2 separate regions of the Homo sapiens genome follow, and region 2 is linked to region 1. The links are contacts of gene promoters, found by promoter capture Hi-C in human tissues and cell types (Jung and others, 2019). All regions are on one chromosome and are shown on one strand. Each heading gives the region's core, a stretch centred on a gene start or on the middle of the fragment in contact. The rest is flanking DNA. Distances are from core to core; before and after follow the strand shown. Region 1 has its middle 21 kb from the start of DHRS4L2. Region 2 holds the start of EMC9 (ER membrane protein complex subunit 9).

What was found. Contacts are between HindIII fragments. The study calls those that stand out against the background at their distance.
Region 2: the fragment with the promoter of EMC9 here is called in contact with a fragment that was not itself captured in region 1 in 6 of the 25 tissues and cell types used here (aorta, dorsolateral prefrontal cortex, heart left ventricle and 3 more).

What each region holds. Positions count from the first base shown.
Region 1 is chr14:24,007,763-24,011,218 of GRCh38, forward strand. It overlaps the pseudogene DHRS4L1. Among named protein-coding and RNA genes, the nearest start is that of DHRS4L2, 21 kb to the left of the region's middle. The HindIII fragment of the contact is 5,422 bases long and covers 1-3,456 here.
Region 2 is chr14:24,139,455-24,143,434 of GRCh38, forward strand. EMC9 (ER membrane protein complex subunit 9) reads right to left here and starts at 2,137. Exons shown (of 6, transcript NM_016049.4): 1 at 1,984-2,137; 2 at 1,653-1,862; 3 at 1,435-1,511; 4 at 91-160. The coding sequence starts at 1,850. It overlaps PSME2 (proteasome activator subunit 2), which reads right to left. Exons shown (of 11, transcript NM_002818.3): 11 at 3,911-3,980. The coding sequence ends at 3,955. RefSeq lists a silencer at 1,971-2,060. The HindIII fragment of the contact is 5,248 bases long and covers 551-3,980 here.

The DNA.
Region 1 (3,456 bases), core at 524-3,023:
CGTGCTCCGATAACGGACAGACTGCCTCCCCAAGTGGGTCCCTGACCCCCATGTAGCTTGACTGAAAAACACCGCCCAGTAGGGGCAGAGAGACACCTCATACAGGTGGGTGCCCCTGTGGAACAAAGCTTCCAGAAGAAGGATCAGGCAGCAATATTTGCTGTTCTGCAGCCTCCTCTACTGATACCCAAGAAAATAAGGTCTGGAATGGACTTCCAGCAAACCCCCAAAGACCTGCAGCTGAGGGGCCTGTTAGAAGGAAAACTAACAAACAGAAAGGAATAGCATCAACATCAGCAAAGGACAGCATCAACATCAGAACAGGAAAGGACATCCACACTAAAACCCCATCCATAGGTCACCAACATCAAAGACCAAAGGTAGATAAAACCACAAAGATGGAGAGAAACCAGAGCAAAAAGGCTGAAACTTCCAGAAATCAGAACGTCTCTTCTCTTCCAAAGGAATACAAGTCCTCACCAGCAAGGGAACAAAACTGGATGGAGAATAAGTTTGATGACTTGACAGACGTAAGCTTCAGAAGGTCAGTAATAACAAACTACACCCAGCTAAAGGAGCATGTTCTAACCCATTGCAAGGAAGCTAAAAACCTTGACAAAATGTTAAACGAATGGCTAACTAGAATGAAGAATCTAGAGAAGAGCTTAAATGACCTGATGGAGCTGATAACCACAGTACAAGAACTTCATGAAGGATACACAAGCTTCAATAGCTGATTCAATCAAGTGGAAGAAAGGATATCAGTGATTGAATATAAAATTAATGAAATAAAGTGAGAACACAAGATTAGAGACAAGAAAAGAAAAAAGAAACATTCAAATTCAGGAAATACAGAGAACATCACAAAGACACTCCTTGAGAAGAGCAACCCCAAGACACATAATTGTCAGATTCAGCAAGGTTAAGGGCAGCCAGAGAGAAAGGTTGGGTTACCAACAAAGGGAAGCCCATCAGACTAACAGCAGATCTCTCAGCAGAAACCATACAAACCAGAAGAGAGTCGGGACCAATATTCAACATTCTGAAAGAAAAGATTTTTGGAACTAGAATTTCATATCCAGCCAAACTAAGCTTCGTAAGTGAAGGAGAAATAAAATCCTTTACAGACAAGCAGATGCTGAGAGAGTTTGTCACCACCAGGCCTGCCTTACAATAAGAGCTCCTGAAGGAAGCACTAAACATGGAAAGGAACAACCAGTACCAGCCACTGCAAAAACATACGAAATTGTAAAGACCATTGATGCTATGAAGAAACTGCATCAATTAATGGGCAAAATAACCAGCTAACGTCATGACAGGATCAAATTCACATATAACAATACTAACCTTCAATGTAAATGGGATAAATGCCCCAATTAAAAGACACTGACTGGCAAATTGGATAAAGAATCAAGACCCATATGGTGTGCTGTATTCAGGAGACCCAATCTCACGTGCAAAGACACACATAGGCTCAAAATGAAGGTGTGTCTGGAATTGGTGGGTTCTTGGTCTCACTGACTTCAAGAATGAAGCCACGGACCCTCGCAGTGAGTGTTACAGTCCTTAAAGGCAGCGTGTCCGGAGTTTGTTCCTTCTGATGTTCAGACACGTTCAGAGTTTTTTCCTTCTGGTGGGTTCGTGGTCTCGCTGGCTTCAGGAGTGAAGCTGCGGACCTTCACAGTGAGTGTTACAGCTCTTAAGGCGGCATGTCTGGAGTTGTTCGTTCCTCCCATCCGGAGTTGTTCATTCCTCCCACTGGGTTCGTGGCCTCACTGGCCTCAGGAGTGAAGCTGCAGACCTTCACGATGAGTGTTACAGCTCATAAAGGCCGTGTGGACCCAAAGAGTGAGGGGCAGCAAGATTTATTGCAAAGAGCGAAAGAACAAAGCTTCCACAGTGTGGAAGGGGACCCAAGCAGGTTGCTACTGTTTGAAGGGGTGGCTTGCCCCTCCACACCTGTGGGTATTTCTAGTCAGGTGGGACGAGAGACTGAGAAAGAGAAATAAGACACAGAGACAAAGTATAGAGAAACAACAGTGAGCCCAGGGGACCGGCGCTCAGCATACCAAGGACTTGCACCGGCACCGGTCTCTGAGTTCCCTCAGTTTTTATTGATTATTATCGTCATTATTTCAGTAAAAAGGAATGTAGTAGGAGGGCAGGGTGATAATAAGGAGAAGGTCAGCAACAAACGTGAGCAATAGAATCTAATAATTCAGTTCAAGGGAAGGTACTATGACTGGACATGCACGTAAGCCAGATTTATGTTTCTCTCCACCCAAACATCTCGGTGGAGTAAAGAATAACGAGGCAGCATTGCTGCAAACATGTCTCGCCTCCCACCATAGGGCGGTTTTTCTCTCATCTCAGAACTGAACAAATGTACAATCGGGATTTATACCGAGACTTTTAGTTCCCAGGAGCAGGCAGGAGACAGTGGCCTTCCTCTATCTCAACTGCAAGAGGCCTTCCTTTTTTACTAACCCACCGCAGCACAGACCCTTTATGGGTGTCGGGCTGGGGGACAGTCAGGTCTTTCTCATCCCAGGAGGCCATATTTCAGACTATCACATGGGGAGAAACCTTGGACAATACCCTGCTTTCAAGGGCAGAGGTCCCTGCGGCTTTCTGCAGTGCACTGTGCCCCTGGTTTATTGAGACTAGAGAATGGCGATGACTTTTACCAAGTATACTGCTTGTAAACATTTTGTTAACAAGGCACGTCCTACACAGTCCTAGATCCCTTAAACCTTGATTTCATACAACACATGTTCTTGTGAGCTCCAGGTTGGGTCAAAGTGGTTGGGTCAAAGTGGCTGGGGCAAAGCTAAAAATTAACAACATCTCAGAAAAGCAATTATTTAAAGTACAGGTCTTTTTCAAAATGTAGTCTCTTATGTCTTCCCTTTCTACATAGACACGGTAACAGTCTGATCTCTCTTTCTTTTCCCTACATATCCCCCTTTTCTTTTTGACAAAACTGTCATTGTCACCATGGCCTGTTTTTGCTGGTCACTGTCTTTCTGGAACTGCTGGATACACCTGTAGACTAACAATAGAGAGGGCAGACATACAAGGATTAATACAAAATTTGCAATAGTGGAATTTCCAATGGTTTTAACCCAAGTGATGGGGGCAAGAGGACAGTGTGGGTGCTCCGGCACCCAGGCAGTCTCCCTTCTCCTTTGTCTCTTAGTTGTTGTTTCTCATAGTTTTCAATCTTTCTCCTCACCTGCTCACTCGCACTTTTTGTTTCATTGTCTCCCTTCTCTTATGGTCTCTCTCTCTTTTTCTCTTTTTCTTCCTTTTACACTATTTCTTTTCCCAGTCTCACTTTCTGTGTCTCTCTCTGATCTCTGTCTTTCTCTTTTACATTATTTTTTTCCCCAGTCTCACCTTCTGTGTCTTTCTCTGATCTCTGTCTTTTCCAGTCTCTCTCTTACTCATTTTCTC
Region 2 (3,980 bases), core at 887-3,386, 130 kb after region 1:
CTGAGTGGACAAAGATGGGCAAGTGAGAGTTTCAAGGGTCCCCCCACCCTACTTGCTTTTCACCTCCCCACCCAGAAACCCAAGCCTCACCATAATAAGTACTGCATCAGGGAAGAATTCTGCAATTCGCCCAGCAATTTTCAAGGCCAGGGGCCCAGGGCTGTGTAGAGGGAAGATCAGAGGAGTGAGGAGCCAACTGTGGGCAAAACCCATCCATTTGAGCTGGGCCTCCCAGGTCTCATAGGTGTGGGCGCAGCTGTGGCCTTTCCCTGTAGGTGGCCTGCGGGGATCGGGCCTGCTGGATGCTTGATGCACGACTGCTTGATGCTTGAGTGCTGTGGGAGACAGGTGCTCAGATATTGCTGGTGAGAGTGGAAACCAAAGGTGGTCTTTTTGGAAGGTAATTTGGCATAACCATCCAAATTGAAACTGTATACATACTATACATATGCTGACCCAGAAATTCTACTTATAAAGAATTTATGGTAATCATAGGACAGTGTCTGTAATAAAACACTGGAAACAACCTCAATGTTTAAAGTATTAAATAAATTAGAGTACATTCATATTCAGACTATATAGCTGTTACGGTAGATCTTGGTGTGGAAATGGGATGATGTCAAGTATTTATTAAGTGAGGGAGAAACGCAAATTACAAAACAGTACCTCTAATTGCTCCATGTATATGATTAATATATATATATATATATATATGTCTTTTCCTATATGTATATATATAAGGAAACTGCCTTATTTTTGAAGTTGCTGGTTGGGATTTCTCTGTTCTTTCAGCCCCTGGGGGACACCTCAGTTAAAGCAAGATCAGTCTGTTGGCCGAGAGTGGTGGCTCACGCCTGTAATCCCAGCACTTTGGGAGTCCGAGGCGCGTGGATCACCTGAGGTCAAGTTCTAGACCAGCCTGGCCAACATGGCGAAACCCCATCTCTACTAAAAATAAAAAATAATAATAAATTAAAAAAATAAAAAAAATTAGCCGGGCATGGTGGCGCTCATCTGTGATCCCAGCTACTCGGGAGGCTGAGGCAGGAGAATCGCTTGAATCTAGGAGGTGGAAGTTCCAGTGAGCCGAGATTGCGCCACTGCACTCCAGCCTGGGAGACAGAGGGAGACTCCGTCTCAAAAAAAAAAAAAAAATCAGTCTGTTGATACACAGTTGTCCTCCCCGCCCCAACGGCACTCCAGGGCAGGGCTCTGTCCTATTCATCTTTATATTCCCTCACTCCAGTACCCAGCATAGTGCCTGGTGTAAAGCCCCTGCTCCTAAGCGTTTGATGAAGGAAAGATAAAAGGAACGACCTTGGTTCATCTTGTGCGCCCCCGCCCCGCCCACCGCCCCACGCATCCTCGCCCTCTATTCCTCCAATCCCCAACCCGCCATAATCCTTTCCTTCTTCCTCTGGCTACGCCACTCACCTCTGATCGTTCACAGCTGCATTGGCATGGTAGTAACCAGCCACCACCAGACCGGCCTGTGCTCCCCACACATCCACCTGTCGTAGGAAAGGGGCCATCAGTAATTAAATTGTGCCGCTGGCTTTGTGGATGCGCACTGCTGCCAAGGGACCGGGGATGAACTTGGGCTGGGGTGTTGGGTGGGTTCGCGGTGGGGGATGGGCATCCAACGGAGGCACCTGGTTGAGGGCGACCTCCAACATGACGGACAGGGCCAGGTGGCTGTGGAAGAGGGGCACACAGTCGGTGAGGCACAGGCATTCTCCAGACCGCGGCGCTGGCGCCAAAAACAGCCCGTTGACTGCGGCGTGTGGGTACCGGGCAGCATGCAGGCACATCTTCACGTAGGCCAGGGCCGAGATCTCCACCTCCCCCATGGCGAGCGAGGCCTGGACGGGAAGCAGCAAGCCGGATTAGTACCGGATTAGGCGAGCCGGTGCCTAGCTCGCGTCCGTGAAGCTCCCTCCAGCGCTTCGGCACGCTCTTTGACCCTTCCCCGTGCCCTCTCACTTCGGTTCGGCGACAACGCTAACTCGACTCGCAGGTAGCCCGCCGGCTCCCGGCGCCCTGGGTCCCGGAGTCCGCCCCCGGCCCAGTCCAGGAGGAGGTCCCGATTGCATCCGAGCCCCGCCTTCCCGCGCCCCTAGCTGGCGGCCGCGACTCTGCGCCTGCCTGGGAGACAGACCAAACTGCAGCTCCCTGCAGAACTGGCTCCTGGAGTCCCGCCCACGTGGTGCTCCTTGATAGGGCTAAAGGCTTTCAATTTGTCCAATCAGCGGCCGCGCCCCAACGTTGCCCCGCCTTTGTCTCCAGCGGACTGGAAAGAACCCACCATTGTGAAGCACAGAAAATTGCCCGCACTCTTATTGGCTAGGTTCCCCGACTTCCGCTCTCGGTTGGTGGTTGGCTTTGCCTGTTACCTGTGTTGCCCACTACCACTCGCTCCGCCGAGCCCCAAGGATGGATCGCTATCCCGTAGCCGGGTGTTCCGGAGCGCTGCGGGCAAAGCAGACCGCCTTGCGCCTATTATGGGTTGAGTGGCTCTGTACTCTAGATCGGCTCTGTCACTTACTAATGGGCCGTGTTGCCTTCGCGACTGCAGGTTTTCTTGCCCTTGGTTTATCTTTTGCCCGTGTTCCTTTAAGGATTTAATGAGATATGTATGGGGGCAGGCTTCCAGCCAGTCTAGTGCTTCGCAGCACATTCTTATCTCATATTTTATGACAGGATAAGGCCCTGAATTAAAGAACAATCCCATGGAGTTTACAGCAAGATCACAGCAAAGGAACCCTTGTCTCTATCACCAGCCCAGGGCTGAATCTTGAAAAGCAGAGATAAAGACAGTGATTGGCTGAAGGGGATATGGGGGAGGACAGTAAGAAAAACTTACAGATTCATCCTTCCCATAATGTCCTGCGATGTATTTCCTTCACCACAGTGCCTTGGAAGCATTATTTTTTCCCCTCCTAGCCCTTAAGGAGGGAGTCCAGGCCCGGCGCGGTGGCTCACGCCTTGTAATCCCAGCACTTTGGGAGGCCGAGGTGGGTGGATCGCCTGAGGTCAGGAGTTCGAGACCAGCCTGGCCAACATGGCGAAACCCCGTCTCTATTAAAAATACAAAAAAATTAGCCAGGTGTGGTGGCACATGCCTGTAATTCCAGCTACTCGGGAGGCTGAGGCAGGAGAATTGCTTGAACCCGGGAGACGGAGGTAGCAGTAAGCTGAGATCGTGCCATTGCACTCCAGCCTGGGCAACAGAGCAAGACTCCATCTCAAAAAAAAAAAAAAAAGGGTGGGGGGAGTCCAATCATTCATCCGTAGTTCTCCATAGTTCTCCCAGTGAAACCTTATTCTCCTTCTAGGCTTTTCCTGAACTGATGAGGATTCTTTCTTTCTTCATTCCTGATGTTGACCACAGAACTTTCCCCTTGTGTATCCAAAGCCTGATTATTCCCATAAGGGCTCTGTGCAAATGCCATCTCTTCCAATAATTCCTGAGACCTCTGGATGAAAATAATACTGTTACATTCCAAAATACAGGTTATCTGCATGGCTGCCATGGCATGTAACAATCCCCACCCTAGGCACTCAGGGTGAAGGACTTGGACTATAAACCCAATGGAGAAGATAGCCCTTCAACCTCTGTGACTTTTCTAAAGCTACTTTCCCCCCTTTTTGCCTTAGATGGAAACAGATAAGCAGGAGAAGAAAGAAGGTAAGTGAGATAAGAGGTGACTAGGGAAGGGGAGATGGCACATTGACTACTGGATGAGAAAGGGCCTGAATCCCCTCTTTCTCACAGTCAAGATTACAGTGGGCATCTAAGTCATCTTTGTCTTTGTGACACCCACCCCTTCCCACCACATTCATCTTCAGGCTGGACATAGGTGCCACTCAATAAATGCTTTTTGAATGAATGACACACGCCAGAAGGGAATCCACACAACATATAGATCATTTATTTTCCTTCTAGTCCCGGGTTCAGTACATAGATGGCTTTTCTTCAC